Regions from separate parts of the Homo sapiens genome. Here regions 2, 3, 4, 5 and 6 are each linked to region 1. The links are contacts of gene promoters, found by promoter capture Hi-C in blood cells and fetal thymus (Javierre and others, 2016). All regions are on one chromosome and are shown on one strand. The core of a region is centred on a gene start or on the middle of the fragment in contact, and the rest is flanking DNA. Distances in the headings are between cores, read along the strand shown. Region 1 holds the start of GHITM (growth hormone inducible transmembrane protein). Region 2 holds the start of SHLD2 (shieldin complex subunit 2). Region 3 overlaps BMPR1A (bone morphogenetic protein receptor type 1A). Region 4 has its middle 53 kb from the start of GRID1. Region 5 overlaps LOC105378408 (a long non-coding RNA gene). Region 6 overlaps WAPL (WAPL cohesin release factor).

The links. Contacts are between HindIII fragments. The CHiCAGO score rates a contact against its expected background, and 5 or more counts as called.
Region 2: a fragment that was not itself captured here is called in contact with the fragment with the promoter of GHITM in region 1 in 3 of 17 cell types (non-activated CD4 T cells, monocytes and total CD4 T cells); the score reaches 8.7 in non-activated CD4 T cells.
Region 3: a contact is called between a fragment that was not itself captured here and the fragment with the promoter of GHITM in region 1, in 1 of 17 cell types (naive CD4 T cells). The highest score is 6.5, in naive CD4 T cells.
Region 4: a fragment that was not itself captured here is called in contact with the fragment with the promoter of GHITM in region 1 in 2 of 17 cell types (naive CD4 T cells and naive CD8 T cells); the score reaches 8.8 in naive CD4 T cells.
Region 5: a contact is called between a fragment that was not itself captured here and the fragment with the promoter of GHITM in region 1, in 1 of 17 cell types (total B cells). The highest score is 7.4, in total B cells.
Region 6: a fragment that was not itself captured here is called in contact with the fragment with the promoter of GHITM in region 1 in 1 of 17 cell types (monocytes); the score reaches 6.0 in monocytes.

What each region holds. Positions count from the first base shown.
Region 1 is chr10:84,137,390-84,140,817 of GRCh38, reverse strand. GHITM (growth hormone inducible transmembrane protein) reads right to left here and starts at 1,309. Exons shown (of 9, transcript NM_014394.3): 1 at 1,225-1,309. RefSeq lists a silencer at 1,029-1,228 and enhancers at 802-1,371, 1,372-1,941. The HindIII fragment of the contact is 9,095 bases long and covers 1-2,932 here.
Region 2 is chr10:87,095,067-87,098,665 of GRCh38, reverse strand. It overlaps SHLD2 (shieldin complex subunit 2), which reads right to left and starts at 3,460. Exons shown (of 10, transcript NM_001330112.2): 1 at 3,418-3,460; 2 at 1,677-1,732. RefSeq lists an enhancer at 2,810-2,869 and silencers at 2,912-3,169, 3,090-3,599. The HindIII fragment of the contact is 450 bases long and covers 1,050-1,499 here.
Region 3 is chr10:86,758,674-86,761,984 of GRCh38, reverse strand. The region is part of intron 1 of BMPR1A (bone morphogenetic protein receptor type 1A); the gene reads right to left. Among named protein-coding and RNA genes, the nearest start is that of BMPR1A, 3.7 kb to the right of the region's middle. The HindIII fragment of the contact is 3,501 bases long and covers 1-3,311 here.
Region 4 is chr10:86,418,095-86,421,797 of GRCh38, reverse strand. No RefSeq gene overlaps it. Among named protein-coding and RNA genes, the nearest start is that of GRID1, 53 kb to the right of the region's middle. The HindIII fragment of the contact is 485 bases long and covers 1,015-1,499 here.
Region 5 is chr10:86,544,946-86,548,441 of GRCh38, reverse strand. The region is part of intron 3 of LOC105378408 (a long non-coding RNA gene); the gene reads right to left. It overlaps LOC105378407 (a long non-coding RNA gene), which reads left to right. Exons shown (of 4, transcript XR_946161.1): 4 at 2,386-2,415. Among named protein-coding and RNA genes, the nearest start is that of WAPL-DT, 25 kb to the right of the region's middle. The HindIII fragment of the contact is 528 bases long and covers 1,558-2,085 here.
Region 6 is chr10:86,447,799-86,451,303 of GRCh38, reverse strand. All of the region lies in intron 15 of WAPL (WAPL cohesin release factor), which reads left to right. Among named protein-coding and RNA genes, the nearest start is that of WAPL, 72 kb to the left of the region's middle. The HindIII fragment of the contact is 3,815 bases long and covers 1-3,384 here.

The sequences.
Region 1 (3,428 bases), core at 60-2,559:
TACCAACCAGGTTTCCCTTACATTAGACTCCCTCGATGGTGTCTTCAAAAGAAAAGCATGCTAAAAACTGGATTATCTTAGCTCCAGGGCACATTATACTAGATGGGTGGTCAACCAGAAGTCAGCAGACAGTGTTTCTGTAATGCTAAGGTGAGGTGACTACAATAGGTCAGAATGAAATGACGAGTGTAAACCAACTGGGGCTACCAGCCCATCTCTGCCAATGATTTGTAGTGAATTCTAGGCAAGTGATATACTTCTGGGCCCATTTCCCCATCTGTAACATAAGGATTCCGTGTTCAGACTACAGCGTTGACCCTTAGACTACCTGCTTGAAAGTGCCCCGGATGCATCTTAAAATGTAGGCTCCTGGGTCTTTCTTTGCTCCTAATGATTCTACCCCTAGGAATAAGACCAAGAACGTGTGTTTTAACGAACACTCCAAAAGCTAAGAACTATTGCTTTAAGATACCCGAGCGTCCTCCGAGCTCTGCAACTGAACTATTAAGGGTCTTAAAATTCGGCACCCGGCCTTTGGGAAAACACCCAGCGCTTTTGGAACTTTCGTGCCATTACATCATCTCAACCTATGGCTGTCCTGTATCTTCCTCAGTACTCAGTCCACTGGTTGGGGCCGAAGAGGTCCAGCTCAGAGTGACCTCCATGTGGCGTAACAGCCCAGAGTGGGAATCCCGCTTCTGACAGGTTAGAAGTGACCTTGTGAGGAGTGTGGATCTCTAAGACTCAGATGTCGTTGCTATAAAATGGGGAAAATACTACCGACCCTAATCCAAGGGCTTATGCCTCCGTGAGCATTGATGAGTTTGGGTGCCTGGTCCCCGAGAAAGTTCACCCAGCCCGCTAGATTCAGATGAGAACCCGGCAGCAAACTTCCCTGTCAACCCACAACACCTCTGCCCCTGCCCCAGGTGCCGCTACCAGCGCAGCGGCTGTACGGCCTCGCCGCAAGGATGACTCAGCACCTTGTTGCCCGAGGACAGAAGCACAGCTACACTGAGCCCTTGCCCGCCTGACCAGGGCCTTGTGCCGCCGCCCTCTCCACCAGGTCACCCACAGGACTGCGACCCCAACGCGCAGGCCGGCCCTGACGCAGCCAGCAGCACCGCTGCTTCCAGCCCTTCCCCCCGCACCCAGCGGTCCCGTGAGGGCGGCTGTCAGGACCACCGGGGATCCCGGGCGCCCGCCGGCCAGCCGGAGCAGTACCTCGGTCCCCGGTCACCTTCGCCTCGCAGTTTCCCTTCCGGGCCCCTAGCGTCGGCCTCAAAGAGCACAGTTCCTCCGGCGCACTGCATGACGCAACATCGAAAGGACGTAAATAGTACGAGCAGCCAATCACGGGCAGGCCTCTGTCGGAAAAGCGGCCACACTGGGGGAGGCGGGGTTCCGGGTTGAGGAGGCGGGGTTCCAAATTGGTGGGGCGGGGCCAGTTGAGGATTGTTGCAGGGAACGTCATAGTCAGCGTCCATTTTGCGTGTGGGCATGGGAGTCGTCTCGGCCATCTTTGTTTTGGGCAGTGGAGCTCTGTTTTGCTTTTGTTTTAGTCGTTTCACTCGCCGCAGCTATAAGAATTATGTAAAAATTGAAAGAAAGTAATGTTAGAGTTAAAAATTATTCCGTTTATTCCGTTCCTTTTTGAAGGCCTTTTTGTCCCTTAATTTATCGTGAGATAAATATCTTTTCAAATGTGTCTGCTTCTGAGCCGAGTCATCCGGTTTCTGGGGTCTCATGCCAAATGTTAGATGGTGACATCCAGAAAAGATTTTTTCTAGATGGTTTTTTCATTGCTTTGTGACTTTCCCGCCCACATTTTCAAGTTTCACCCTAAACCTGTGTAATAGGCCTGATAACAGCCGCCTCTGCCTTGCACCCAGGATTGCTCTGAGGACTAAGATGTTTCCATTGCGCGTAATTTGATAGGTGAAGAGCTAGTTGTGGAATACGCGAGAGAGTTACTTTCTTTTTCACTCTCCCTCTATTTCAACAGATATTTACTGAATGCTCAACTTCGTACCAAGCTCTGTTCTAGAAATATATACAAATGAATCAGCCGGGCGTGGTGGCTCAAGCCTGTAATCCCAGTACTTTGGGAGGCCGCGGCGGGTGGATCACTTGAGGTTAGGAGTTCGAGACCAGCCTGGCCAACGTGGGGAAACCCTGTCTCTACTAAAAATACAAAAATTTGCCAGGCGTGATTGGTGCCTGTAATCTAAGCTACTTGGGAAGCTAAGGCAGGAGAATCACTTGAACCCAGGAGGCGGAGGTTCCAGTGAGCCCAGATCCCGCAACTGCACTCCAGCCTGGGCGATAGAGGGAGACTCAGTCTCAAAAAAAAAAGAAACCAAAAAAACAAAAACAAAAAAACAGCAAATGAATTAAACCCGTGTGTGCTACCACTATTTTAACAAAATAAAGTCCTTGCTCTGTGGCTTTACTTTCTGGTAGAGACAGAACATAGAAAAAATATAATGTGATAACTTAATACCATGAAGAAAGAGCAGATTAAAACCCTGAAAGGGTGATAAGGTGATTAACAACATGCAAAATTCATGAACCTTTATCTCCTAAGCAGTAGTTAATTGTGATTTATGATTCCTAATCATGTAAACCTTGACAAATATAAAGACTTGCCTTCTATGTGGATAATAAAAGAGTCTGGCAGCAACACAATTCTTATCTCTTTACGCTGAAAATGGCAGGAAAACACTAGAGAAATCTCACGAAACTGAACAGATCAAGCATGATCAGTTTAATTTTTATTTTGATCTATGCCCAATTTTATTAGCTAGCAAATAGGTTTTCTGTTTGGCTCCTTCAGTGATAGTCTTTTTTTCTAGAGCTTCTGTTATCAGCAAAGAGAAAGGATTTACAACACAGTACCAGAATAAAGATCTTGAAGTCAATGACTCAAGCTTTCTTCAAGATTCCTATTAAAGCTTATTCTCTCCATATTGGAAGAAAAATGTCTGATTTCATATTTTCCTTTCTCAAGTAAAGGGCTTGTATTGTTGTTTCCACAGGGGTCAAATATTTTGAAGCAGGGGAGGAATCTGGTCATATCATTGGGAAATATATGCTCTTGTGGCAGTGTAGGAAGGGAGAGGTTCCATGGACCAGGAGACCAATTAGGAATTTATTGTAGTTGTTCAACCAAAAGGCAATAAAGGCTGGAATTAAGCCAGTAGAAAGACACAGAGGGGTTTATGACAGAGATATATTGCTGAAGTGGAGTTTGCAGGATTGAATGGTCGGTCAAATATAGCTGATAAGAATGAGGAAGGCTCCCTGAGTAATCCTTCTGAACTGGGTGGATAATTTTATCATTAATTTAGCAATAGGATACAGGGAGAGATACAAGTGAGGGGAAGTAGATACATAAAACTTAGTTTGAAGTGTTTAATTGTTAAGTT
Region 2 (3,599 bases), core at 25-2,524, 3.0 Mb before region 1:
AAATACTTAAAATACTCCTTGGAATAGTATAAATAGTATAACTTTGGAGTCAGATACACAGGTTTGAATCTTACCCTATTTACAAGCTTGGTGATCATCAACAATTTGTTTGGTTTCTGTGGGCCTCACTCCCTGTTTTTTTTTTTTTTTTTGAGATGGAGTTTCATTCTTGTTACCCAGGCTGGAGTGCAATGGCGCAATCTCAGCTCACTGAAACCTCCGCCTCCCAGGTTCAAGCAATTCTCCTGCCTCAGCCTCCTGAGTAGCTGGGATTACAGGGATTCACCATCACACCAGGCTAATTTTGTATTTTTAGTACAGATGGGGTTTCTCCATGTTGGTCAGGCTGGTCTCGAACTCCCAACCTCAGGTGATCCGCCCGCCTCAGCCTCCCAAAGTGCTGGGATTACAGGTATGAGCCACCACGCCCAGCCACTCCCTGCTTCTAATAAATCAGGAATTATAATACCTACAGTGTGAAAAGAAATACTCCAAATATTCACTAAATGGGGGAAGAGATGGATAATTTCATTCTGTTTTTCTAAAATCTATTTCTGCTGTTCATATTTTTTTAACAACTTGTATGTAATTTTAAAACATAATGACCAGGTGCAGTGGCTCAACACCTGTAATCCCAGCACTTTCGGTGGCCAAGGCGGGCAGATCATTTGAGGCCAGGAGTTTGAGAACAGCCTGGCCAACACTGTGGAACTTCGTCTCTATTAAAAATACAAAAAAATTAGCCTGGCATGGTGGCGGGCGCCTGTAATCCCAGCTGCTCGGGAGGCTGAGGCAGGAGAATCACTGGAACCTGGGAGGCAGAGGCTGCAGTGAGCTGAGATTGCACCACTGCACTCCAGCATGGGCAACAGAGCAAGACTGTCTCAAAAAAACAAAACAAAACAAAACCATGATGATTTTAAAAATAAAAACATCTGTTTTATAGGGTACTCATGAAGCCAGTTTGTAAGGCACCTACACACAGGAGATTCTCAATTAAAAAAAAAATAGTAATTTCCACAGCTCTATTCCTCACCTCTTCCAAAGCTTCTTCAATTCTGCCTTTCCTTTTTTGAGATGAAGACTCGCTCTGTTGCCCAGGCTGGAGTGCAATGGCACGATCTCGGCTCACTGCAACCTCTCTCCCTGGTTCAAGTGGTTCTCCCAAGTAGCTGGAACTACAAGCACTGCCCAACCCCCTCCCCGCCACCACGCCTGGCTAATTTTTGTAGGCCCCCCACCACGCTTGGCTTATTTTTGTATTTTTAGTAGAGACAAGGTTTCACTGTGTTGCCCAGGCTGGTCTCGAACTCCTGACCTCAAGTGATCCGCCCACTTTAGCCTCCTAAAGTGCTGGGATTACAGGCGTGAGCCACCTCCTTAGGCCCAATTCCACCTTCTTGAATTCAGGTGAACAAGTCACAGAAGAAGCAAAGTTAAACATTTATTTTTCTGAAGGCTAAGGTTATAAAGAACAACAAAAACAATAAAACTAAGCTTTTAAAGATTTTTCCTCAGAACATAAACAAATAATTTAATCCAAAAAGAAAAATATTTCCATGTTTACTGATGCTAATCATTTTATTCTGAAACTCCGTGGGTTTTTTGCAGGAGTGGGGGATTGCAATGTAAGAGAGTAAAACGATAATACATCCAGAAAAAAGGAAATTTGATACCTTAATCTTTTGACCATCAAGGAAAATTCAGGATTCAGGTCAGAGTACATTTTTCACTGAAAAACACAGTGCAAATACAATTAATGACAATGACTTATTTAGCAAGTAAGGTAAAATATAAGTTCCACCTGTATGAAAAGATAATTTTGACTTTGAGAGTACACTTAGATGAATGTCATTTAACAGATCCAGGTTGTCACCTTATATTTTACACAATATTTCGAGAACTAAGAACTTTCTCTTCCATATTCTAAAAGATGAATAACATGAACATATCGGGAAGCACCATCGTTTTGCAGGTCCAATGGGTGTCATTTTAAAACCACCCAAGTACACTGAGACCGCTAACGCTAGTAATGTGGTGTTTGGCAGCTAGTTTTAATGACTGTCATTAGAGCTTTATTTTTTATTTTCTTTTTATAGAGACGAGCCCAGGCTGGTCTTGAACTCCTGGCCTCAAGCGATCAGCCTGCTTTGGCCCCCAAAGTGCTGGGATTACAGGCGTGAGCCACCGTGCCAGCCTCGTTAGTTTGAAAAGCACCAAAAGCTATCCATAGGAATGTGAACTTTAGCATTTCCTATCAAGTATGTATAAATACATAACTGAACCCTCATACAGCATAAAGCTTATAAATCATATACTGAGGCCAGGCGCGGTGGCTCACGTCTGTAATCCCAGCATTCTGGGAGGCCTAGGCGGGCGGATCACTTGAGGTCAGGCGTTGGAGACCAGCCTGGCCAGCACAGCGAAACCCCGTCTCTACTAAAAATGCAAAAATTAGCCGGGCGTGGTGGCGCGGGCCTGTAATCCCAGCTACCCCGAGGCTGAGGCAGGAGAATCGCTAGAACGAACCCAGGGAGGTGGAAGCTGCAGTGAGCCGAGATGGTGCCACTACACTCCCGCCTGGGCGACAGAGCAAGATTCCATCTCAAATAAATAAATAAAATAAAAAATAAATCATATACTGAACCATTTAACAAATACATATATTCCTGAGAAAGAATTTCCTGGGGGCATTATCGCATTTCTAGTTTCCTTATTTTAGACTATTTCAGAGGGAGATAGGGTCTCCCTCTGTTGCCCAGGCTGGGGTGCAGTGGAGCTATCGTAGCTCACTGCAGCCTCGAACTCCTGGGCTCAAGCCATCCTCCAGCCTCGACCTCCCAAAGTGCTAGGACTAAAGGCGTGAGCCACCGCGCCGGGCCGGAGCCTCTGTCTGCAAAGGTGAAGCAGTCAGTACTGTGGGGCGACACAACCACGACGTGCGTAACTATGCGATCTCCACACTGCGGAGCAGTTGAACGGGACAATAAAAGCTCGCGTGGTGAGAGCTTGTGGGCGAGTGACTCCCTTCCAGCTCACGCCAGCCACGCATAATCCAACTCCGGGTGCCACGCCGCTCTCTGCAGCCCTGGCTGGTGACGCCGAGCCCTCAGCCCGGCCTTACGCGGCGGCGGCTCTGCCTCGCTTTCCTGCCCACGTGTCAGCCCCTGCACGCCCGGCCCCGGCCTGAGGCCGCCAGAGGACAGGCCAGGGTGGGCCGCCCGTTCCGAGGGCGCGCGGGCGGAAAGGAGGGGCGCCCGTGACTCACATGACCCGGTCCCCGACCAGACCGCCAAGCCTCACCCACGCGGCGCTCGGGGGGACTCGGCCTCTGAGCGCCCTACAGAGGCCAGCCCCCGACCCCGACCTCCCTGGGCTACCCCCAACCCCCCTGAGGGACCCCCGCGGCGCACATACCTGAGAGCCCCGCCGGAGGCGGGTGCGGCCTCCGGGCAAATCCGGCCGCCCGTGGGCCCGCCCCGACCCGCCCCGACCCGCCCCGACCTTCCCCTCCCTGCCCCTCCCGTCCGTTCCCCTCCACTCTCCTCCCCGCCCTTCCTCTCCCCTCCCCTCCCTTCCCCACTGGCGCGCGAGCGTGC
Region 3 (3,311 bases), core at 383-2,882, 2.6 Mb before region 1:
CCTACCTCCAGCACAAACCTCTGTCAAACCCCAGACCCATATAGACAACTGCCAAGTGGAAATCCCTACTTGGCTGTTTCAGATATCTCAAACTCCATGTGATCCAATACTATTTTCTTCTACAAACCAGCTCTCCCACCTCATTTTTCATATCTGTCACCCACATCTACCCTGCTTTCCAAGCTAGAAATCCAGGAGTTGTTCTTGCCAATCCCATTCCTTCTCTCATCCACGCTAGTTATCGCCTCCTATCCATTCCAGGCCCTAATTATCTGCCACCATCTTAACCCATTTATGCCTGAGGCTGCAATTTTTTGAATTTTTGCAATCAGACCTTGGTGATGACCTTGAGCAGGATATAAATAACTCCCACGTGCTTAGCGTTCCAATAGTGGAACACTAGGCATAAATGGGTTTAATCCGGGCTAGGCCAGAAAGACCTTCCTACAAGTTTGAACATCTTCAGTCTTCCTTTCTTCAAAATGATTTTCCAACATGTAACTAATCTCCCTAACTGCAAATGTGATTATAATATTTTATCCCTATCTCTAGCATACTCCTGTCCTCCTTCATAAGTCAACAGCCAATTATATACAGCTGGATCAAGAGCCAAGCTCCACTGTTCCAGACTTTAACAGTATAACAAATCTGTGCCATAAGAAAGGAAGGCTCATCAGAAATATAAAACTATAAAAGAGTAACAAAGTCTACAACATCAGAGTAAATAAAAGATACTCAAAGATAATTTACTCATCTATTCAATGTCTACTCATTAGTTATATATTAAACTGCCCATACGAACTGGCTTAGGGACCACAGGGGCCACCCTGAGATGGAGTCTACTGATCATCTGATCTCCCTATGCCCCTAACTAGTGTTCTTTTCAAAAAACACTACTGGGGATTTCCAGGCACATCCAAGAGCTTTGATTAGGGAGAGAAACACTATTCATCAATTCTAAGATGCATCCATTTTTCATATTTTAGCATCTCCGGAATTGGGGTGCACCTTACAATCAATGGCTTCTTACAACTAGAAGCATATTTTAAGTGGTCTGTAACACTACTGTGTATCTTACAATGGACATAACTCAATGCAAGTCAACATTTAATCTTGTGTTAAAAAGTTGGTCCAACTTGGTCAATATGGACCTTGTGATGTTAAAAAGACATCCTAAAGCCTAAAAACTAGTAAAAGGTGGGAAAGTAGAAAAGGAAAAGAAATGGTTCCTACTTCAAAATTTAGTGTGATAGGAAACCCATTTTCCTTTCTCTCCATGGTTCGCTGCTCCTAAGATCCAATAGTCAGATCAGGACAGTTCAACAGCTACTGTTAGGCTAGACAGGAGCCTTTCCCCATTTATTCCTTTTAATATGCAAGAAAAGTCCGTTACAGACCCACCCTGCAAACTAGTAGTGAAACTAATATTTGTATAAAAACTGCTATAAAGGCCAGCCACAGTGCCTCACCTGTGTAACCCCAGCACAGGGAGGCTGAGGCGAGCGGATCAACTGAGGTCAGGAGTTTAAGACCAGCCTGGCCAACATGGCAAAACCCCACCTCTACTAAAAATACAAAAATTAGCCAGGCGTGGTCCCAGCTACCTGGGAGGCTGAGGCAGGAGAATCCCTTGAACCCAGGAGGCAGAGGTTGCAATGAGCTGAGCTCACGCCATTGCACTCCAGCCCAGGCGACAGTGCGAGACTCTGTATCAAAAAAAAAAAAAAAAAAAAAAAGAAAGAAAGAAAGAAAGAAAGAAAAAACAATAAGGTATTAAAAAAAAAAAAAAAAAAAAACAGGTAAATCTGAGGCAAATACCACAGAAAATATTTCATTTAATGGAAGACCTAGGAAACTTCTGAGTGGCGAAGTGGTAAGAACTGGGCTTACAGATTAATTTAGGCAGAAATACATAAGATTAGATAAAGGAGAAAAGTGAAGGCAAGAAAATCATAACATTAGTCCAGGTGGGATGAGAACTTGATTTAGAGTTAGGGGGTGGGGGTGGAGTCGCGGGGTGGTGGGGGGAGAACTACGTGAAAGCCAAATAACACTAGATTTGAAAATAAATTCCTGAAAAAAATGTGAAACATTAAAATTCATATGAGAATCAGAAAATCGACACAAACCAACAGCTATTAAAGAAATTGAAGTGTTACTCAAAGTCCTCTCCAGAAAAAAGATCTAGGCCTAAATGGTCACATAGGGGAGGTCTTCCAAACTTTCAAGGAACAGATAATCCCAGTCTAAAATGATCCTGAAAAAGAGAAAAAGAAGGAAAGCTGCCCAACTCGTTTTATGATTTGACTACTACCTTCACACCAATATGAATTCAGAATTGCCCCACAGTTAGCAAGAATAGAGAGCAGAAGAGTTACAATATCATAAAGCAGAATCAACAGATGTTGGCTACAGACAAGATATGATGAAATGGGAAAAGGTTTGGGTTTGGTATGACATCAACAAAAATAAAGAACACCAAAGAGGCAAGTTTGCTAAGGAAAAGCAGCTCAGAACAATCAGGTACAGATATGTAGAAAGCAACTGAATAAAAAAGAAAAAACAAAACAAACAAACAAAAAAACGTGATTCAGAAGACACATAAACAAAGAATTGAGAATTATTCCAACAGAAAGGTCTGAACAATCATTCTAAGGGACTAGAGACATAGAGAAAAGTGATCTGAAAAGTGAAACTTGGAGAACGCATATTAAAGAGGAAAGAAGAAACAGAAGGCAGAAAAGTGGCGGAGAGGAACAAAGTCAGTATAATGTCACAAAAGGCCCCTCTTCATCTAGTTAATAGTTAACTCTTGCTCATCCTTCACAATCTGCCTGGGTTCCAACAAAGCAATTTTAAGGTATCTTTCCCAGATTCTCCCACCACCACAAGCACCAGATCAGGTCTCCATTTGAAGTTCTTATAATATTCTGCACCTTAATTAAAATCACAATTATATTTAACTAGAGACTTTATTTTTCAATAAGTATTTCCCCACTAGACTTTAAGCTCCATGAGGGAAGGATCTGTTGTATCTTACTGCCTTGGACCCTGTGTTAGAATACAGCGAGTATAGATGAATGAAACCCAAGGAGAGGCATCTGAAAATGTGAAGTCGATGTTAAATCTTACAGAAAACTCAAGGAGAGGACTTAGAAAAAGGTAGTTAAATGTGTTGATTAGGTTATAGTTCCTTGTGAAGGTGAAATCCAGATAACAAGGGGTTAAGAAATGAGTGGCTAGCCACCAACCAGGCAAAGGCAGGAAAAGCAGACTACACTTGGCAATCTCTAGAGATGGATTGTGAATGA
Region 4 (3,703 bases), core at 8-2,507, 2.3 Mb before region 1:
GCCACCACAGCCAGCCATAATTTTTTTTTTTTTTTTTTTTAAATTAGAACTAGGCTGAGCGTGGTGGCTCACACCTCTAATATCAGTATTTTTGGGAGGCCGAGGAGGGTGGATCACTTTATCCCAGGAGTTCGAGATCATCCTGGGCAACATGGTGAAACCGCATCTCTATGAAATATACAAAATTAGTCGGGTATGGTGGCATGCAACTGTAGTCCCAGCTACTTGAGAGGCTGATGGGGGAGGATCAGTTCAACCCAGGAGGTGGAAAGTGCAGTGAGCCCGGATTGAGCCACTGCACTCCAGCCTAGGTGAAAGAGTGAGATCCTCACCCTCAGGTACTGCTTTATAGCAATGCAAAACAGATGAATGCACCTTCCTATAAAGAAAACACTTGGCCCATTTACTTTTACTGGTGAGTTTTCCAACATTTTAAGAAAAAGGTAACAACGGTGTTATACAAAACTCTTTAAGGAAATAGAAAAAGAGGAAATACTTTTCCAACCCATTTTATGAGACCCATTTGTCCCTGACACCAAACCCTGACGTGGACATTGTAAGAAAGAAAGATTGTACTGTAGTCCAATCTTTCATGGCTTGGACGTGAAATGCTAATAAAAAGTTAGCCAGTAAATTACAGCAATATATAAAAATGTGGCTGGGCGCGGTGGCTCACACCTGTAATCCCAGCACTTTGGGAAGCCAAGGCAGGTAGATGACCTGAGGTCAGGAGTTTGAGATCAGCCTGGTGAAACCCTGTCTCTACTAAAAATACAAAAATTAGCCGGGTGTGGTGGCACGTACCTGTGATCCCAGCTACTTGGGAGGCTGAGGCAGGAGAATTGCTTAAATCTGAGAGGTGGAGGTTGCAGTGAGCTGAGATCACGCGACTGCACTCCAGCCTGGTTGACGGAGCGAGACTCTGTCTCAAAAAAGAAAAAAAAAAGTGAACACCTCACAACCAAGTTGCCTTTATATTAGGAAAACAGCCCATCATCTGTGTGCAAAAAAGCTTCTGCACACCCCTGATCTCAGCCTGTGGCCTCTTCTTTTCCCTCCCTCACTTCTTGGTGGTCTTAATGGCTTGGAATAACCCATAAGACCACCAAGACTCATGACTTGGAACACCACCTATGTGTTGATGACTCCCAAATTTGTAGCTTCAATCCTAACATTTTCCTAACTGTACACATCCAGGCGCCCATCCACCCTTTCCCCTTGGATGTCTTACAGGCATCTCCTAACTCCTGTCGAAACTATACTCTGAGACCCTCCCAAACAATCTGTATGTAACCCATGAGACTTTCATAGCTCAGTTCCCTTCATTGAGCTCCTAGGCACCAAACATGGAACAATTTTGACACCACCTCCCTTTATATAATTCATTTATTACCCTCTCACTTCCATTTCAAATTATGCCCAGAATCTGACTACCTCTCACCGCCTCTTCTCACTGCCAGATAGCATATTTTTATTATGTATCTGCTAGCATGTAAGCTTCATGAAGGCAGGAGCTTTATGTCTTTCATTACTGCTAAATTCCAGTGCCCAGAACAGGGCCTGACACATAGTAGGAACCCCGTCAATGTAATTTTTTTAAATGAGACAGGGTCTCACTCTCTCAGGCTGGAGTGCAGAGTCGTGATCACGGCTCATTGCAGCCTTGACCTCCCCAGGCTCAAGCAATCCTCTCATCTCAGCCTCCCAAGCAGTTAGAACTACAGACATGTGCCACCACCCCAGCTAATTTTTTGGTGTGTTTTGTAGAAACAGGGTTTGCTATGTTGCCCAGGCTGCTCATGAACTCCTGGAGTCAAGTGATCCACCCACCCGGTCTCCCAAAGTGCTGGGATTACAGGCGTGAGCCACCATACCCAGCCCCCTTCAATATTTTTACAAATAATGACCTATAGTGTTTTTAAATACATCACACATCTTAAAAGATTGATACCATCTCCTTTGTAAGGATGTTGAGCCACAGGTGCACATTCATAAACTGTGTGTGAGTGTAAATTGTTACAGCTTTTTAAAAAATAGACTTTATGCCGGGCATGGTGGCTCATGCCTGTAATCCCAGCACTTTGGGAGGCCGAGGTGGGTGGATCACGAGGTCACGAGTTCAAGACCAGCCTGGCCAACATGGTGAAACCCCGTCTCTACTAAAAATACAAAAATTAGCCGGGCATGCTGGCTCACACCTGTAATCCCAGCTACTCAGGAAGCTGAGGCAGGAGAATTGCTTGAACCAGGGAGGTGAAGGTTGCAGTGAGCTGAGTTCGAGCCATTGTACTCCAGCCTGGGCAACAGGGCAAGACTCAGATTCAAAAAAAAAAAAAAAAAAAAGACTTTATTTTTTAGAGTAGTTTTAGTTTTACAGCAAAATTGAGTGGAAGGTGCAGAGATTTCCCAGGTATCCCTGTGCCTGCAACATGCACAGCCTCCCCCATGATCAACATCCTGCACCAGTGTCGTGCATTTGCTACAATCAGTAAACATGACACATCATTGTCACTCAGAGTCCAAGTTTACAGCAGGCTCACTCATGGCCTTCTACGCTCTGTGGGTTTGAACAAATGTACAATGACATCTATCCACCATGTTAGTGGCATGCAGAGTACTTTCACTGCCCTAAAAATGTTTTGTACTCCACCTATTTATCCTCCCTCAGTGTGACAGCCTTTTTAGAGGTCAACTTGAGGGTATCTATTGAAATTTTAAAGATGTGTATCTTTTGACCCAGAAATTTTATTTCTTGTAATCCATTGGAGAAAACACTTGCATTGTACACAAAGAATAAATATGAATATGTTCTCTGCAACATCTAAATAGTGAAAAATGAAAACTCCTTGAATGCCCCTGAGTAAGGAGATTGTTGCTGAACAAAGTGTGGTCCTTCTTTGCATGGAATATCACACAGCAGTAAAAAGAAAGAGCTCGTTCTTGTGCTGACAAGGAAAGAGAAAGTCATACTTTTAAGAGGGAAATTTAAGTGGCATAGTCATATGTACAGTGTGTTCTATCAGTTAAAGTATATGTATATAATTTCTATACATGCTTGTGAGTGCATAGATGGAAAAATTCTGAAAGGTTAAATATCAGACTCATAGTTACTATTTCTGGGGGATGAGATGAAGGGAGATACAAGGCAAATTGTGTTTATTCTGTATTGATTTGGATTTCTTAATTTCTCTCTCCCCCCCCTTCTCTCTCTTCCTCCTTTATTTCTCTTTCTTTCTTTCTTCCTTCCTTCTTTCCTTCCTCCCCTCCGTCCTTCCCTCCTTTCTTTCTCTCTCTCTTTCTTTCTTTCTTCTTTTTCTTCTTTCTTTTTTTCTTCTTTTCTTCTTTTTTTTTTGTGGAGACAGGGTCTCACTGTGTTGCCCAGGCTGGAGTGCAGTGGTGCTATCATAGCTCACTGCAGCCTAGAACTCCTGGACTCAGGTGATTCTCCCACCTATAGGAAGTATAGGCATGCACCTGGAACTACAGGCATATGCACCACTACGCCCAGCTAATTTTTTTTTATTTTTGTAGAGACAGGGTCTCACTCTGTTGCCCAGACTGGTCTTGAATTCCTGAGCTCAAGTGATCCTCCCACCTTGGCCTCCCAAAGTGCTGGGATTACAGGTGTGAGCCACCACACCCAGCCTGGACTTCTTTTAAATGAGAATATACCTATTCATTTCCTGTGTATTAAAAATAAGTT
Region 5 (3,496 bases), core at 572-3,071, 2.4 Mb before region 1:
TGGTGTTTTTTGCTTAACAATTCCTTTTTCAAGTCATCTCTCTCTTCTTACACTTTACTGTAAGCAATGAGGAGGAACCAAGCCACTCCTTCAACACTTTGCTTAGAAATCTCCTCAGCTAAATATCCAGTTTTATCACCCACAAGTTCTGTCTTCCACAAAACACAGGAAAATTGAAATTCAGCCAAGTTCTTTGCCATTTTATTATGAGGATCATCATTCCTTCAGTTTCCAATAACACGTTCCTTATTTCTGCCTGTGACTTCAACAGGATTTCCCTTAATGCCCATATTTCTAATACTTACCTCAAAACTCTTGTAGCCTCTCCCCACTGTCGAGTTCCAAAGGTGCCTCCATATGTTTAGGTATTTGTTACAGCAACACCCCACTTCTTAGTACTGAAATCTGTATTAATGTGGGTTCCCCAAGTAAAAAGAACCATAAATAAATAAATATATATATATATATGGTGTGTGTATATATAACATATATGTGTATATATACATATATACATACATATACATATATACGTTTATATATATACATATATATACATTTGTGTGTACACACACATAGAGATTTATTTATTTTGAGACAAGATCTGGCTCTATCACCCAGTCTGGAGTGCAGTGGTGCAATCTCAGCTTACTACAACCTCTGCCTTCTGGGCTCAAGCCATCCTGCCACCCTCAGCCTCCCTAGTAGCTGGGACTACAGGCACAAACCACCATGCCCTGCTAATTTTTGTACTTTTTGTAGAGAGGAGGTTTCACTGTTTAGCTCAGGATGCTCATGAACTCAAGCGATCTGCCCATGTCAGCCTCCCAAAGTGCTGAGATTGCAGGCATGAGCTATCATGCCCAGCAAGAGATTTATTAAAAGGAATTTGCTCACATGAGTATAGAGGCTGAGAAGTCCCAAGACCTGTAGTCAGCAAGCTGGAGCCCGAGGAAAGTTGATGGTGTAAGTTCTAGTTCATGACTCAGTCCAAAGACAGGAGAAGACTGATGTCCCAGGTCACAGACAGTCAAGTAGAAACAGTAAAGTTTATGGATAAGTTCCACTCACATTGGAGAGGGCCATCTGCTTTACTAAGTCTACTGGTTCAAATACTAATCTCATCTGGAAACACTCTCACAGACATACCCAGAATAAAGTTTTTGTTTTGTTTTGTTTTGTTTTGTTTTTTTGAGATGGAGTCTTGCTCTGTTGCCCAGGTTGGAGTGCAGTGGCATGATCTCGGCTCACCACAACTTCTGCCTCCTGGGTTCAAGCGATTCTCCTGCCTCAGTCTCCCAAGTAGCTGGGACTACAGGTGTGCGTCACCATGCCCGGCTAATTTTTGTATTTTTAATAGAGATGGGGTTTCACTATGTTGGCCAGGCTCATCTCAAACTCCTGACCTCCTGATCCGCCTGTCTTGGTCTCCCAAAGTGCTGGGATTACAGGTGTGAGCCACCGTGCCAGGCCCCCAGAATAATGTTTAACTAAATATCTAGGCAACCCACGGCTTAGTCAAGTTGACACATATAATTAACCACTACAGGCCTACAAGCTTTTTCCAGATTAACTGTGCAGTGGAGGAAAAAAATAATTTTATCTGAGATTATGGGACACTATAATGAGCTCTAACTCTATTTTCTGGGGATCCAGAACACCTCTTTGATCCACTGGTAGAAATTGAGTTTATGGTGATCAGGTGACAAATGGTGTTTTAGCTTGATTCTGAGGCACTATAGGCTTTCCCTGTCCCAATGACATCAGGCCTGGAGATACGCCAGATATCAGAGACCAGAAAGGCCAATTGTGATATAATGTGTTACTGCCCTGTGGAAAAACCACACATCCATCCTCCATAGAGGGCAGACTTACTTTGGTCAATGCAATGTGAGCATCAGTGACATGTCACTTCTGAGCAGAAGGTTTAAGGCAGTGTGTGGTTTGCCATCTCTCTTTTTCCTCTGGCAACATCTAGATTGGGCCTACTGTCAGCCTGGGTACGCAAATAAAGATGGCCTGAAGCAGAGCTGAAGTTACTCCAAGATGGACATACAGTACGAGAAAGAAAAATTTTCATTGTAAGCTTCTGACATTTGGGTCATTTGTTACTTCAGTATAACTTAGCCTAAGCTGACTGATACATGCTCAAAACCATTCTGGAGTTATTCCCACTTTCCTGAATAGCCATATATAGCTATTGTGAGAATCACAATACCCCCTTAGTTCATGCAATGAAGACATCCAAGTGGAAACCCCTGGAGCTAATTATCTATGCCAAAATTGTAAATCAAAATCAATACTGAATTGCTGGGAGAATCACGAAGATTCATGGTGGTTATTTGTGTCACAACCCATTCTATTCATGTTTGATCATTGTCAATATAGGCTGGACACAGTGGCTCAAGCCTGTAATCCCAGCACTTTGGGAGGCCGCAGCGGGAGGATCACCTGAGGTCAGAAGTTCAAGACCAGCCTGGCCAACATGGTGAAACCCTGCCTCTACCAAAAATACAAAAATTAGCTGGACATGGTGGCACGTTCCTGTAGTCCCAGCTACTCGGGAGTCTGAGGCAGGATAATCACTTGAACACGGGAGATGCAGGTTGCAGTGAAATGAGATCATGCCATTGCACTGCAGCCTGGATGACAAGAGTGAAACTCCATATCAAAATAAATAAATAAATAATTGTCAATATATTTATGTCTCATTTCCCTAACTGTATTATTTTGTTCACTATTCCATATATATTTTGGAGTAGGAATCACGCATCAGGTGCTGTGCAGGGTCCTGAGGGTCACAGAAAGAATAAAGCCAGATTATCCCGCCCTTGAGTAACTCAATCTAGGTAGCACTTGCCTGGATGTGTATTGTATAGTGAGCTAGATGAATATTGTTTATATAGTGAGCAGTGTTTAAATAAAGTTAGAATTAGTTGGCAACATTTAAAAATCAGGAGACTTCACATGAAAAGCTAGATTAATCATTTCTTTTGAAATATGGAAAGATCTGGCAGTTCTGGGTCCTCTCTGTCCCACGGCTATTGTCAGCTGGAGGGGAGCATCTGTCATCCCTTTTGGCAGGGCCTGAGTTTGCCCAGTTCCCTGCAGGCCCCACCACCCCCTCCACCACAGAGAGAGAAGGCACACCTTGGCACAGGACCAGTTCCTGCCCTTCCAAACCACATGGGTGGCTTTGCCTTTACATGGTTGTTGCAAACAAAACAAACAGTCCTAACTGCCAGTCATTTAAAAAGGAATAGTATCCCTCGCCGGATTATTAGGGGGGCATGGTGGCAGGCGCCTGTAATGCCAGCTGCTCAGGAGGCTGAAGCATAAGAATCGCTTGAACCCAGGAGGCAGAGATTGCAGTGAGCCGAGATCGCACCACTGCACTCCAGCCTGGGCAACACAGTGAGACCCTGTCTGGAAAAAAAAAATAGGATAATATTCCTCTTTCTATGTCAGGAATACTGGATGCACTAACAGAGGTGGATGC
Region 6 (3,505 bases), core at 228-2,727, 2.3 Mb before region 1:
AATCACTCCTTAAGCATTGTTACCAAAAAGCAGAGACAAAGGCACATTTGTTCTATTAATGAAATTGGGTGCAGTGGCTTACGCCTGTAATCCCAGCACTTTGGGAGACTGAGGTGGGGAGGATCACTTGAGTCCAGGAGTTCAAGACCAGCCTGGGCAACATAGTGAGCTCCCATCTCTATTAAAAAAAAAAAAAAGTCAAGAATCCAGGCCCATCACATCCACTTCGTGTCCTCTAGTATTTATTTACTCGTCTGATCTGTGTCCAGAACTTTGACCTTATGGACCACAGAAAACTGGAAGTCCTTTGTCACCTGTTCCCTTACCCAGTCTGGAAAGTGGCAAAGTAGCCGAGCATGGGAAATTGTGAATGAGAGTGTTTCTTTGAGCCATTTAAAGTCATTTTTTATTATCCTCTTTTGTTCTCTATTATGTGTGATTGAATGTTGACTATAGATAAGAGGTAGTTAATCCCTAGGCTTTTCTTCTTAGACTCAGAATACTCCGTTTTGACTAGCCTTGAAGTTTTAGTTTATTTAAAATACAAAATTAAATGTGAAACTAGTGATAGATTATCATTACTTATCAGTAACAGTAATAGTAAATGGTAGTAGTAATTTACTATCAATAGTTGATAATAGACTGCTTTTAGTCTCCAGATACCATTTAGAGATTTCATTTAATGCAAAAAACATTTGAAAATGTTTGGCACCTACCGCTTTGATCCCATTGACAACATTTATTTTTCTGCTAAATGAAGCATTTCTTGGCCGGGCAAGGTAGCTCACACCTATAATCCCAGCACTTTGGGAGGCCAAGGTGGGTGGATTGTTTGAGCTCAGGAGTTTGAGACCAGCATGGGCAACATAGTGAGATCCTGTCTGTACAAAAAATAAAACAGTTGGTTGAGTGTGGTGGTGCATGCTCATAGTACCAGCTGCTCGGGACGCTGAAGTGAGAGGATTGCTTGCACCCAGGAGTTTGAAGTTGTCGTGAGCCGTGATTACAGTACTGTGCTCCAGCCTGGGCAACAGAGTGAGACCCTGTCTCAAAAACGTTTAAAAAAAGTATTCTTTTTTTCTGTTCAGTAGACTTGTTTTTAAACTTTTTATTTCAAAATAGTTATAGACTCACAGGAAGTTACAAAAATAGTACAAAGAATCCCTCCCATTTACCCTTTACCTAACTTCCTCAAATGGTGACATCTTATATAACTGTAGTACTATAGCAAAACCAAGAAATTGACATTAGTACATTACTGTTAACTGCACTTTAGACCTTATTCAGTTTCACCATTTTCATCTGCATTCATTTATGTTTGTGTGTAACATATGTACCTCTGTTCAGTTTTATTACGTGTATAGATTCATGTACTCACCACTACATTGAGATATAGAACCGTCACCATAAAAGAATTCCCTTTTGCTGCTCACTGTACAGCCTACCTGCCCTCCCTGTCTCCTAGCTACCACCAACGTGTTTTCTATCTTTTTCCATCTCTTGTTTTATTTTTTTCTATCATTCTAGTCTCTTTCTTTTAAAAATTGACTTTTCTTCAAATGGAACCTAGAAATGAATAAAAACTTACCGTCAGTCGCCTCAGGAGCTGTGTTTGAAGGCACAGATGATAGATCTGCATTATCCACATAATAGGGGTTCATTTGCAGAAGCCATCCCCACACCCTCAGAGATCCCTGTTTGTGAGTTGTTTCAGGGATAGTCTCAAATTTTCCTACTGTGTCTAATTGACCTGGGAATATCACTTCCAGTATTCCTCTTTTGCACTTAGTGTTATAGAAGCCTCTTGTCCTTCAGGGTATCATCCTATATCTTCTCTGTCTTTCTTTTATCTGCTATGGTTTATGGTTTGTCATTTTTAAATCAGTTTAAAGTTTTTGTTTTTCAATTGTAATACCTTTTGGGTGATGGGTTCTGTTACTCATTTTAGAAAATTGTGCTGCCTTGTACTCACATCAGTTACCTTAAAGTGTCAAGAAATGGCTCTTAATTCTGTTATTCAAAGATAGAGTGGAAAAATCCATGTTCAGATTTATATCGTTTATGCTACTGATAACGTTGGCCTGAATCCAGTAATTTTCAAATTACGTATCTTTTCGATAATGTTGTATAAATGGAATCTTACAGGTAGTTCTGATTACTGACATGAACTTTCCTCTTTCTAGCTGTTCTTTTCTTACCTATTTATGGATCTGTTTATTTTTTAAAAACCAAACATAATTCACATACGTAGTGGGGGAAAAAAAGTCAGATCCAGAAAGGTTTAAACTCCACAGATCTATTTCCTAAAACGTTACCATTTGTAATAGTTTTGTGTTTGTCCTGAGAAATTAGTGTTTATGCATATATCAAAATAAATGTGCAGGCCAGACATGGTGGCTCATGCCTGTAATCTGTAATCCCAGCACTTGGGGAGGCTGAGGCAGGCAGATTGCTTGAGCCCAGGAGTTTGAGCCTGGCCTGGGCAACATGGCAAAATTATGTTTCTACTAAAAATTAAAAAATTAGCCAGGTGTGGTGGCATGTGCCTGTAGTCCCAGCTATTTGGGAGGCTGAGGTGGGAGAATCACATGAGCCCAGGAAGTTGAGGCTGCAGTGAGCCATGATCCTGCCACTGCACTCCAGCCTGGGCAATGGGAATAAGACCCTGTCCGAAAAGTAAATAAAAAAATGTGCAATGTGTTTTATATAAATGGACTCTTACTGTACATAGTATTTAGTCTATACCCACTCTTTGCTTAATGTGTCTTCCTGAGCTCTTCATGTCAACACGTAGGTTCATCACATTCTTTGTAATGACTGCAAACTAGTAGCTTTTTGATTTATACATACATACATACAGGGTCTCACTCTTTTACCCAGGCTGAAGTACAGTGGTCCAGTCACAGCTCACTACAGCCTTTACCTCCCAGGCTCAGGTGATCCTTTCACCTCAGCCTCCCAAGTAGGTGGAACTACAGGCACATGCCACCACGTTTGGCTAAGTTTCGTATTTGTAGAGCTGAGGTCTCAAACTCTTGCACTCAAGTGATCCTCCTGCTTTGTCTCCTGAAGTGCTAGGATCACAGGCATGAGCCACCATGCCCTGCCTTAGTACTTTATTTAACCAAACCTCTACTGATACACTTTTTGATGGTTTTCTGTTTTTTTAAGTTTTATTTTGTTACAAAAATTACAGAAATAAATACCATAGCATCTAAATCTTAGGCCATACTTTTCTTTTTTTTAAATTTTTTTGGAGACAGAGTCTTGCTCTGTCGTCCAGGCTGGAGTGCAGCGGCACCATCTCAGCTTACTGCAACCCCTGACTCCCAGGTTCCAGTGATTCTCCTGCCTCAGCCTCCCAAGTAGCTGGGATTACAAGCTTGCGCCACCACGCCTGGCTAATTTTTGTATTTTTAGTAGAGGTGGTTTCACTGTGTTTGCCGGGCTAGTCGCCAACTCCTGACCTAAAGTGATCCGCCTGCCTCAGCCTCCCAAAGTGCTA